2 separate regions of the Homo sapiens genome follow, and region 2 is linked to region 1. Evidence: promoter capture Hi-C in human tissues and cell types (Jung and others, 2019). All regions are on one chromosome and are shown on one strand. Each heading gives the region's core, a stretch centred on a gene start or on the middle of the fragment in contact. The rest is flanking DNA. Distances are from core to core; before and after follow the strand shown.

Region 1 (4,331 bases), core at 1,744-4,243:
CAACATATTTATTAAGTACCTACTATGTGCCAGGAGCTGGGTTTACACTAGTGATCAAAATAGATATAGAGATTATATTCTTGTTCCAGTGGCCCTGACACTTCAGAAGACACCAAAACCAAGGGCTTTTGTATTTATTTACTCATAGAAATATTTGCAATACCTATAACCAACAAAGGACTCGTATCTGATATTCATAAAGAACTCCTACAAAGTGGTAAGACAGGGCTGGGCTCAGTGGTTCACACCTATAATCCCAGCACTTTGGGAGGCCAAGGCGGGCGGATCACTTGAGGTCAGGAGTTAGAGACCAGCCTGGCCAACATGGTGAAACGCTGTCTCTATCAAAAATACAAAAATTAGCCTGTCATGGTGGCATGTGCCTGTAGTCCCAGCTACTCAGGAGACTGAGGCAGGAGAATCACTTGAACCCAAGAGGTTCCAGCCTAGGCAACAGAGCAAGATACCATCTCAAAAAAAAAAAAAAAAAGTAGTAAGACAGAAGGAATAGAATAATAGAAAATGGACATGATACTTGAACAGATATCCAAGGGTCAAATAAATGCATGGAAAGGTGGTCAACTTCATTGGTTATCAGGATAAAGCAAATTTAAACTACAATACCACTATACACCCACCAGAATGGCTAAATTTTTTAATTTTTCTAGATTGACAATATCAAGTGTTAATGAGAATATAGAGCAACTGGAACACTAAGACGCTGCTGGCAGGAGTGTAAATTAATATGAGCACTTTGAAAAATTGTTTAGTCGCATTTGCTAAAGCTAAAAATATGCATATCCTTTTATGACCCAGTAATTCTATTCCTAGGTATATATCTAGTATAAATATGAACGTAAGTGTACCAAAGGACATGAACAAAAACGTTATCGCAGCCTTATTCATAATAACCCCAAAGTAGGAACAACCAAAATGTCCGTCAACAGAATAACAGATAAATTGTGGTATATTTATTTAATGGCATACCGTACGGCAATGAAAACAAATAAGCTACTGCTACCACAATGTTTTGGATGAGTTTCATAAACATAGTATTGAGTGAGAGAAGCCAGACACAAAATAATACCTACTGAATGGTTCCATGTATATAAAGTTCAGAAGTAAGCAAAACTAACCTGTAGTGTTAGATAAACGTTACTTTTGAGAAGGAGTGTGGCATAGTCACCAGGAGCGGATAGAAGGAGGGTATCTGGGATGCCAATAATGATCTCGTTCTAGATCTGGATGGTGGTCATATGGGGGTGTTCACTGTGTCATCATTTGTTGACCTGTACACTTAGGTTTCGTGTTCCTTTCCTAAATGCCTGGTATATTTCAATTAAAAAAATACACACAGGAGAGGGGAACAGTTTTCGAGTAAGTAAAAACACGGAAGGTAGAAAGGAAATAGGAGAGAGATCAAGATTTTATACACAGGTAGCTGAGCTGTGGCCAGATTAAATGGGGTAGTGGAGGGGAGGGAACTGTTGAATAGAACAGGGCAGAAGTTGCCTCCAGCCCAACCAAAGTTCCTCCAGATACATCAGCCTTAATTCCCCACCCAACCCCACACCCCGTATTCACAAACCTCATCTTTCTGGACAAGTCCCAGCATTTCCTAGACTAGCAGCTACTTCTCCTGGCAGAAAAACCCAGTATTTGAGGCCAAAACTGGGGTCTGAGACACTGATATTTTGCTCTAGTAGGTCCTGTGAGTCTGCAGGCCCTTGATGCAAATGCTCCAGAGCTGATCTGGAATCATCCTGGGGGTACTGGTTTGGGGTGGGTGAGGGGAACAGGGTTTGGTATGTGTATTTGTCATCCTTATCAAAAGGAATGACCTGCTCAGGTTGCTGTGTGTGCTCTTGTGAGCACGTGCCCAAAGCTTCATACACAGCACTGCGATCTCTTCTCCCCAGGCACATCTCCGCTCCAAACCCTATTCAGGGGTCTAGAGCCATGTTCGAATGCCCCCGGGCTACTTTCAGGGAGGAAAAGGACAGGAAGGAACCGTTGGTCACAGGTTCCACTGACAAGAGGGGAAAACTTGGGAGTGGGGGTTCCTTTATGAGGGAGGTCACACCCCCTGCACAAAAACATCCCAAAGAGAACTGGCATTGAGCTTGTGTTGGAGAGGTGGAGATACCCCAGGGAGGAAGTGGCGAAAGGTGAGCATGGGAACACCCCTCTTTGATCCCACAAGGTGCGTCAGGGAAAGTTGGATTTCATTTAGTCCGGGATGGTGACATCTCTCCGCACGCTGCCACCAGGCTCAGTGGGTCAGAGGAAGTGAGGCTCCCCTCCTCTCCGACCTCAGGTGATGCGTGTGCGACCCCAGCCATGGGTCTGACCTCCTTTCGCTCCCGCCCGCCAGTCTCCACCCCTTTCAAGGCCGGGACTTTTTTAAGGCCGGATTCGTCAGGGGTGAGCCATTTGCTCAAGGAACGCGGAATCTGGAGGGAGCCTAAAGTGACGAGCCGGCGGGAGAAGAGCAAGGTAGGGACTGTTCTGTCCGGGTACCAAGTGGGAGGAGGGAGCACGCGGCTGGCTGCTTGAGCCCGGGGGTCAGAGGTGGCTGGCTGGCTGGCTCCACAGGGACGTTTACCGGTCTTCCCGAAGGCCAGAGGCTCCAAGGAAACATCCAGAGGCAGGAGAGGACGCGCACTGTCGCACACGCCTCTCAAAGTCTGCTGGGGCTCCGACGCGGCGCAGCGGGCCCGGGGGCGGTAGCACCACGCAGCGAGCCCGGGCAGCGGGCCCCTCGGACCCCGGGCCGATGGGCGCTGGGACCCGCGCGCTCCAGGCGCATGGAGCCGGCTCCCGGTTCCCGTCACTCCTCCTACTGCGTTTCCCCGGCGCCCCGCCTCCTGGGCACGAAGCGAAGGAAGGGGGCCGGGCCGAGGTTGATCCCGCCCCCTCCCCAGTCCCTGATTGGCTGCTGCTGTTGTCCATCCGAGAATCTATTTTTGATGGAGCGGGGGGGGTGCCACCCAGTCTGCCCCAGATCACGTTTGCCACCGGCAGCCAACCAGTTGGGCCCGAGTCCGCGGGCAAGAAGCGATTGGGGGCGCGTGAGCTCGGCTCCCCGGTCCCCCGTCCGGGTGCCCCCCCGCCGGGCCCGAAGCGATATATCCTGCCCTCCCCGGCCACCTCCCCCGCGTGGAAGCGGAGCGGCGGCCTCGCTGTAACGCAGAAGCGAAATGTAGCGAGCCGGGTGTCGCGGCTGGACGCTCGCCTTGGCTGGGGGTGTGGGGGGGCACGCCGGGGGCCAAGGAGGACTGTCGAGGAGGAGTGATGAGAAGAGGGGGTGCCCTGCACCCCCCGAGACCACGGGCCACGCTGCCACTTGCCAGGCGCCCCCCTTCCTCCCAGGCGAGGGGCAGGTCAGTCCTGTGGGGTCCTGGGGCGGGGAGGGGGTGGTGGAGGGCGGCAGTCCTGGCGCGCAGCGCATTTGCTGAATCTGAGTGGTGGAGAGACTGAGGAGGCCACCCAGTTACTTTCTCTCCCTCCTCGGGGTTGGGGATACTAAAATGGGTCTTTTTTGTCCCCGCCTGGGAGGAGGGGATAGGGCGTCCTGGTTCACTTTTGCTTCTTTCGTCCCAGGGCCTTAGGCCTGTCTGAAGTCTCTTTACAGGGGGAGTGGTGAGGGAGGACTGGCTTCCCCTCCTGGGAGCCCCCTCTCAGGTTCAGTGGCCTGCCAGGAACACAGGAGGGAGGCGGGGGTGTCAGCTTTTAGCGGACTCAGAAACTTTTCTGGCATAGGGGCACTGGACTCAGAGGTTTCCTCCTGGATCTCTGGTGAGGGAGTTTGAAAGAACCACAGTACTGTGTTTAAGGAGATTGGAAAAGGGAGTCCTGGTGGGTGACTGAATTGATAGAGGAAACAGTTCTCCTGGGCCAGTTCCTGGGGTTTGATACCTCCTTTCCTAAACTGAACTTGACTAATTGTGTGTGTTTGGAATACTTAAGGACCTGTTCCTCTTACCTGGTGGAACTCTCTTTAAATTTATTTTTTACGAATAAGAGCTCTTCTGGTGAAATGGAATAGGATGGGAGTCCATCAGGAATTAGGAAGCCTGGGGATTCCTTTAGGCAGAGAAGTGGAGCCATTACAGCTAAAGAGATGCATTTGGAGCAAGTGCATATTGGCTTACGGTGCTTTGGTTTTTGTTTTGGGTTTTTTTTATTGCTACTTTTGTTTTTTTGTTTTTGTTTCTAAGAATTCCACTATATCCAACTCTCAGTAACCCTGGGGAACAGGAGGAGCCTAATTAACTGAAATGCGTGGGTAATAAGCAATCGTTTTATGCTCTGTCCCTTCTAACTGAGAT
Region 2 (4,259 bases), core at 75-2,574, 82 kb after region 1:
TTAGATTTTTTCATAGTCATATTTTTAAGAAAGAAAATATATTTTTATTGTAATAAAATATGCTTAGCATAAAATTTACCATCTTAACTTTTTTTTTTTTTTTTGAGACAGAGTCTTGCTCTGTTGCCAGGCTGGAGTGCAGTGGTGCGATCCCTGCTCACTGCAACCTCTGTCTCCCAGGTTCAAGCAATTCTCCTGCATCAGTCTCCCAAGTAGCTGGCACTACAGGCACGCACCACCACGCCCAGCTAATTTTTGTACTTTTACTAGAGACGGGTTTTCACCATGTTGGCCAGGATGGTCTCGATCTTTTGACCTCATGATCCGCCCACCTTGGCCTCCCAAAGTGCTGGGATTACAGGCATGAGCCACTGTGCCCGGCCCATGTTAACCATTTTTAAGTGTATAGTTCAGTATTGTTAAGTACTTGACATTGTTGTAAAGAACTCTTAATCTTGCAAAACTGAAACTAAACCCACTAAACAACAGCTCCTCATCCCCACTCTTCCAGCCTCTGGCAACCACCACTCTACTTTCTGTCTCTCTGAATTCATCTACTCTAGGTCCCTCATGTACATGGAATTAATAGTCATATTTAAAGTTAGCTTTCCTAATAATATAGTATCTTTGGTAATATAAACTCAGCTTCTTACAATAAAATATATAGTTGGAGTATATTTTATAGTTTTGTTAAACTAAAGAAAAACAGAAGGTGGAACTCCTTAAGAGCCTTGTTTTTTCTCTTTCTAATGCTGAGTATGTAACTATATATTCCTCTACATATAAGCCCAAGCCTTTTTTTCCAGAATTCACCTCCATCCATACCATCTCCACATACTATACTAGAAGGTGGACCAGTGTTTGCAGTCTGACCATCCTGTCTTTGAATTTAAATGGTGTCTTAATCTATACAGCCAAGAATATCCCTCTGCTCAGGTTTAAGTATAGGTGGTAATGTATATTTATCTTAAATTTTTTTTTTTTTTTTGAGACGGAGTCTCTCTCTTTCGCCCAGGCTGGAGTGCAGTGGCGTGATGTTGGCTCACTCACTGCGAGCTCTGCCTCCCGGGTTCAAGCCATTCTCCTGCCTCAGCCTCCCGAGTAGCTGGGACTACAGGCGCCCGCCACCACACCCAGCTAATTTTTTAGTATTTTTAGTGGAGACGGGGTTTCACCACGTTGGCCAGGATGGTCTCAATCTCCTGACCTCGTGATCTGCCCGCCTCGGCCTCCCAAAGTGGTGAAATTATAGGCGTGAGCCACTGCGCCTGGCCTATTTCTCTTAATTTTTTAAGTTCACTTGATCAATTTAGGCCTACAGTAACAGTGCATTTTTTAATCTAAGGCTCTTTTGCCAGGTAGGCTGTTTGGGTACTAACATGGAAGCTTACATGTATATCTCTAGAGAAGAAGTATTAAACTTTTAGATTTAGAGTGCAGAGTACAAAAATAGAAATGAAGATTTGTTTGAGATGTTAAAGATACGTTACTTGATAGGGAGTACTTAAAGTCATTTAGAGTCAAATAGATTCTGCAGATATTCTCACTGTTTTGATTTTGTAATAGTCAGGACAGGCTAACCATTCACTTTATTAAGACCATGCATATATCCCCAGAACTAGTTCTTTCCTGAGGTCTAGTTTTATAAATGTTGCTGATAAACCAGGTCTGTAAAATTGGAAAAGGAAAAAAAAAGTTTAGAAACAAAAGAATAGAGTCAAATACATAGATGTACATAAATCTGTGAGGCTTTCATAGTTTTTTAAATAAAGCATCTTTTGACTGGACCAATTAATTTGTTTCCTTCCCCTTCTGTATAAAGCTTAACATTACCATAATTTTTGTGCATTATAATGTAACTGTACTATACCTAAAAATTGCTTTTGCCTTGAAAAGCTTAGTAATAACCTTGTTTATCAAGTATACATATATATGTGTGTAGCAGTAAGAGTAAAATATCATTTACAACTTTAGCTTATAAATAGGGCATCTTTGTATATAATGAATACATAGGTACATGGTGATTTGGCTCATTTTGCTGTTTTATGTATATTTGTTTTGAGAGACGGGAGATTGTTTTGTAGAAAAGAATGGTATTTGAGACCGGGCACGGTGGCTCACGCCTGTAATCCCAGCACTTTGGGAGGCCAAGACGGGCGGATCACGAGATCAGGGGAGACCAGCCTGGCCAACATGGTGAAACCCCGTCTCTACTAAAGATACAAATATTAGCCAGGCGTGGTGGCACACGCCTGTAATCTCAGCTACTCGGGAGGCTGAAGCAGGAGAATCGCTTGAACTTGGGAGGCAGAGGTTGCAGTGAGCCAAGATCTCGCCATTGCACTCTAGCCTGGGCGACAGGGCAAGACTTCATCTCAAAAAAAAAAAAAGAGAGAGAAAAGAATGGTATTTGAATTATCACTGAGATGAGCAGTATGAGAATTGTAGCTTGACATACTTGTGGTTTATGCTATGCTTTCTTATAACAGAATGTTAAGTACTTAGGCTTAAGTGGGGGCCTTTAAAAAATAATTTTTGGCTGGGTGCAGTGGCTCGTGCCTGTAATCCCAGCACTTCGGGAGGCTGAGGCAGGATGACTACCTGAGCTCAGGAGTTTGAGACCAGCCTGGGCAACACCAGGAGACCCTGTCTCTACAAAAAATGAAAAAAAATTAGCCAGCATGCGTCTGTAGTCCCAGCTACTCAGGAGGCTGAGGCAGGCGGATTACTTGGGCCCAGTAGGTCAAGGTTGCAGTGAGCCATGATTGTGTCACTGCTCTCCAGCCTAGGCGACAGAGTGACACCCTGTCTCAAAAAATTAATTAAATAATTTTCTTTTTTTTTCTTTTCTTTTTTTTTTTTGAGATGGAGTTTCACTTTTGTTGCCCAGGCTGGAGTGCAATGGAGGTATCTCGGCTCACCACAACCTCTGACCCCTGGGTTCAAGTGATTCTCCTACCTCAGCTTCCCAAGTAGCAGGGATTACAGGCATGCACCACCACGCTTGGCTAATTTTGTGTTTTTAGTAGAGACAAGGTTTCTCTATGTTGGTTAGGCTGATCTCAAACTCCCAACCTCAGATGATCCACCAGCCTTGGCCTCCCAAAGTGCTGGGATTACAGGTGTGAGCCACCACGTCCAGCAATTAAATAATTTTCAAAGTGCTAGTTCAGTTCTGTTTATGAAAGAGAAATGTGTGTTCTGATGTCTTAGAAAAATCCTACAGTTTTATGATTTTAATTAGAGTCTCTTCTTTCTACAGAAATAGGAAGGTTGTTGATTACTCACAGTTTCAGGAATCTGATGATGCAGGTAAGTTTTGTGGTTTCAACAAATTTTAAGTTGGACTGACCAGTGGAGGTTACCAGCTTATATAGTTTTATTATGCTTTTGGAATAAGTTTTACTTTTTTATTTTTAGATCATTTACCAAAACCATGTCATGATCTGTGTCAACCAAAGCAAAAGTTGAACTTACATGGATTTTAACTTTTCCTTGGTAAATCATTGATAATAAACATTAAAAAGCTTTTTTCTTACCTGGTTTTGGAGTCCAAAGTTTAAATGTCCAGTAATTCTGATACAGTGTTCATTGCTTAAAATATCTCCTGCTGTCAGCCAGTCGCCATGGCTCATGCCTGTAATCCCAGCACTTTGGGAGGCCAAGGTGGGCGGACCACTTGAGGTCAAGAGTTCCAGACCATCCTGGCCAACATGGTGAAACCCCATCTCTGCTAAAAATACAAAAATTAGCCGGGAGTGTTGGCATGCACCTGTAATCCCAGCTACTCTGGAGGCTGAGGCAAGAGAATCGCTTGAACTCGGGAGGCGGAGGTTGCAGTGAGCCGAGATGGCGCCACTGCACTCCAGCCTGGGCAACAGAAAGAGACCCTGTCTCAAAAAAAAAAATCCACTACAGCCAGGCGCAGTGGCTCACGCCTATGAATCCCAGCACTTTGCAGGGGAAAAAAAATCTCCTGCTGTTACTACAATAAAACTTGTGCCTTGTATTATGTTTTTACATAATAAAGCAACTAAGATGAGAGTCTGTTTTGTGAAACAACTTATATTTATGAACTAATTCATCAAGGAATGAGTGTTGTATAGCTAAGTCTTAGCCATAAGAGGTTTTTTCAGAGTTGTCTCCTTAATCTCATTACTTTCCAGGTATGTTTACTATTCTTTTTTCTTTCTTTTTATTCTAACTTTTCTTTATAAAGATAATATGTGCCCTTTGGGAAGACTTAGAAAATACTGAAA

Evidence for each region. Contacts are between HindIII fragments. The study calls those that stand out against the background at their distance.
Region 2: a contact is called between a fragment that was not itself captured here and the fragment with the promoter of SLC41A1 in region 1, in 3 of the 25 tissues and cell types used here (IMR-90 fibroblasts, adrenal gland and hippocampus).

What each region holds. Positions count from the first base shown.
Region 1 is chr1:205,811,860-205,816,190 of GRCh38, reverse strand. It overlaps SLC41A1 (solute carrier family 41 member 1), which reads left to right and starts at 2,993. Exons shown (of 11, transcript NM_173854.6): 1 at 2,993-3,383. RefSeq lists silencers at 2,633-2,862, 3,003-3,262 and an enhancer at 2,699-3,199. The HindIII fragment of the contact is 10,091 bases long and covers 1-4,331 here.
Region 2 is chr1:205,728,625-205,732,883 of GRCh38, reverse strand. NUCKS1 (nuclear casein kinase and cyclin dependent kinase substrate 1) reads left to right here. Exons shown (of 7, transcript NM_022731.5): 2 at 3,263-3,312. It overlaps LOC124900423 (small nucleolar RNA SNORA72), which reads left to right and starts at 1,532; the gene lies at 1,532-1,663. The HindIII fragment of the contact is 6,338 bases long and covers 1-4,259 here.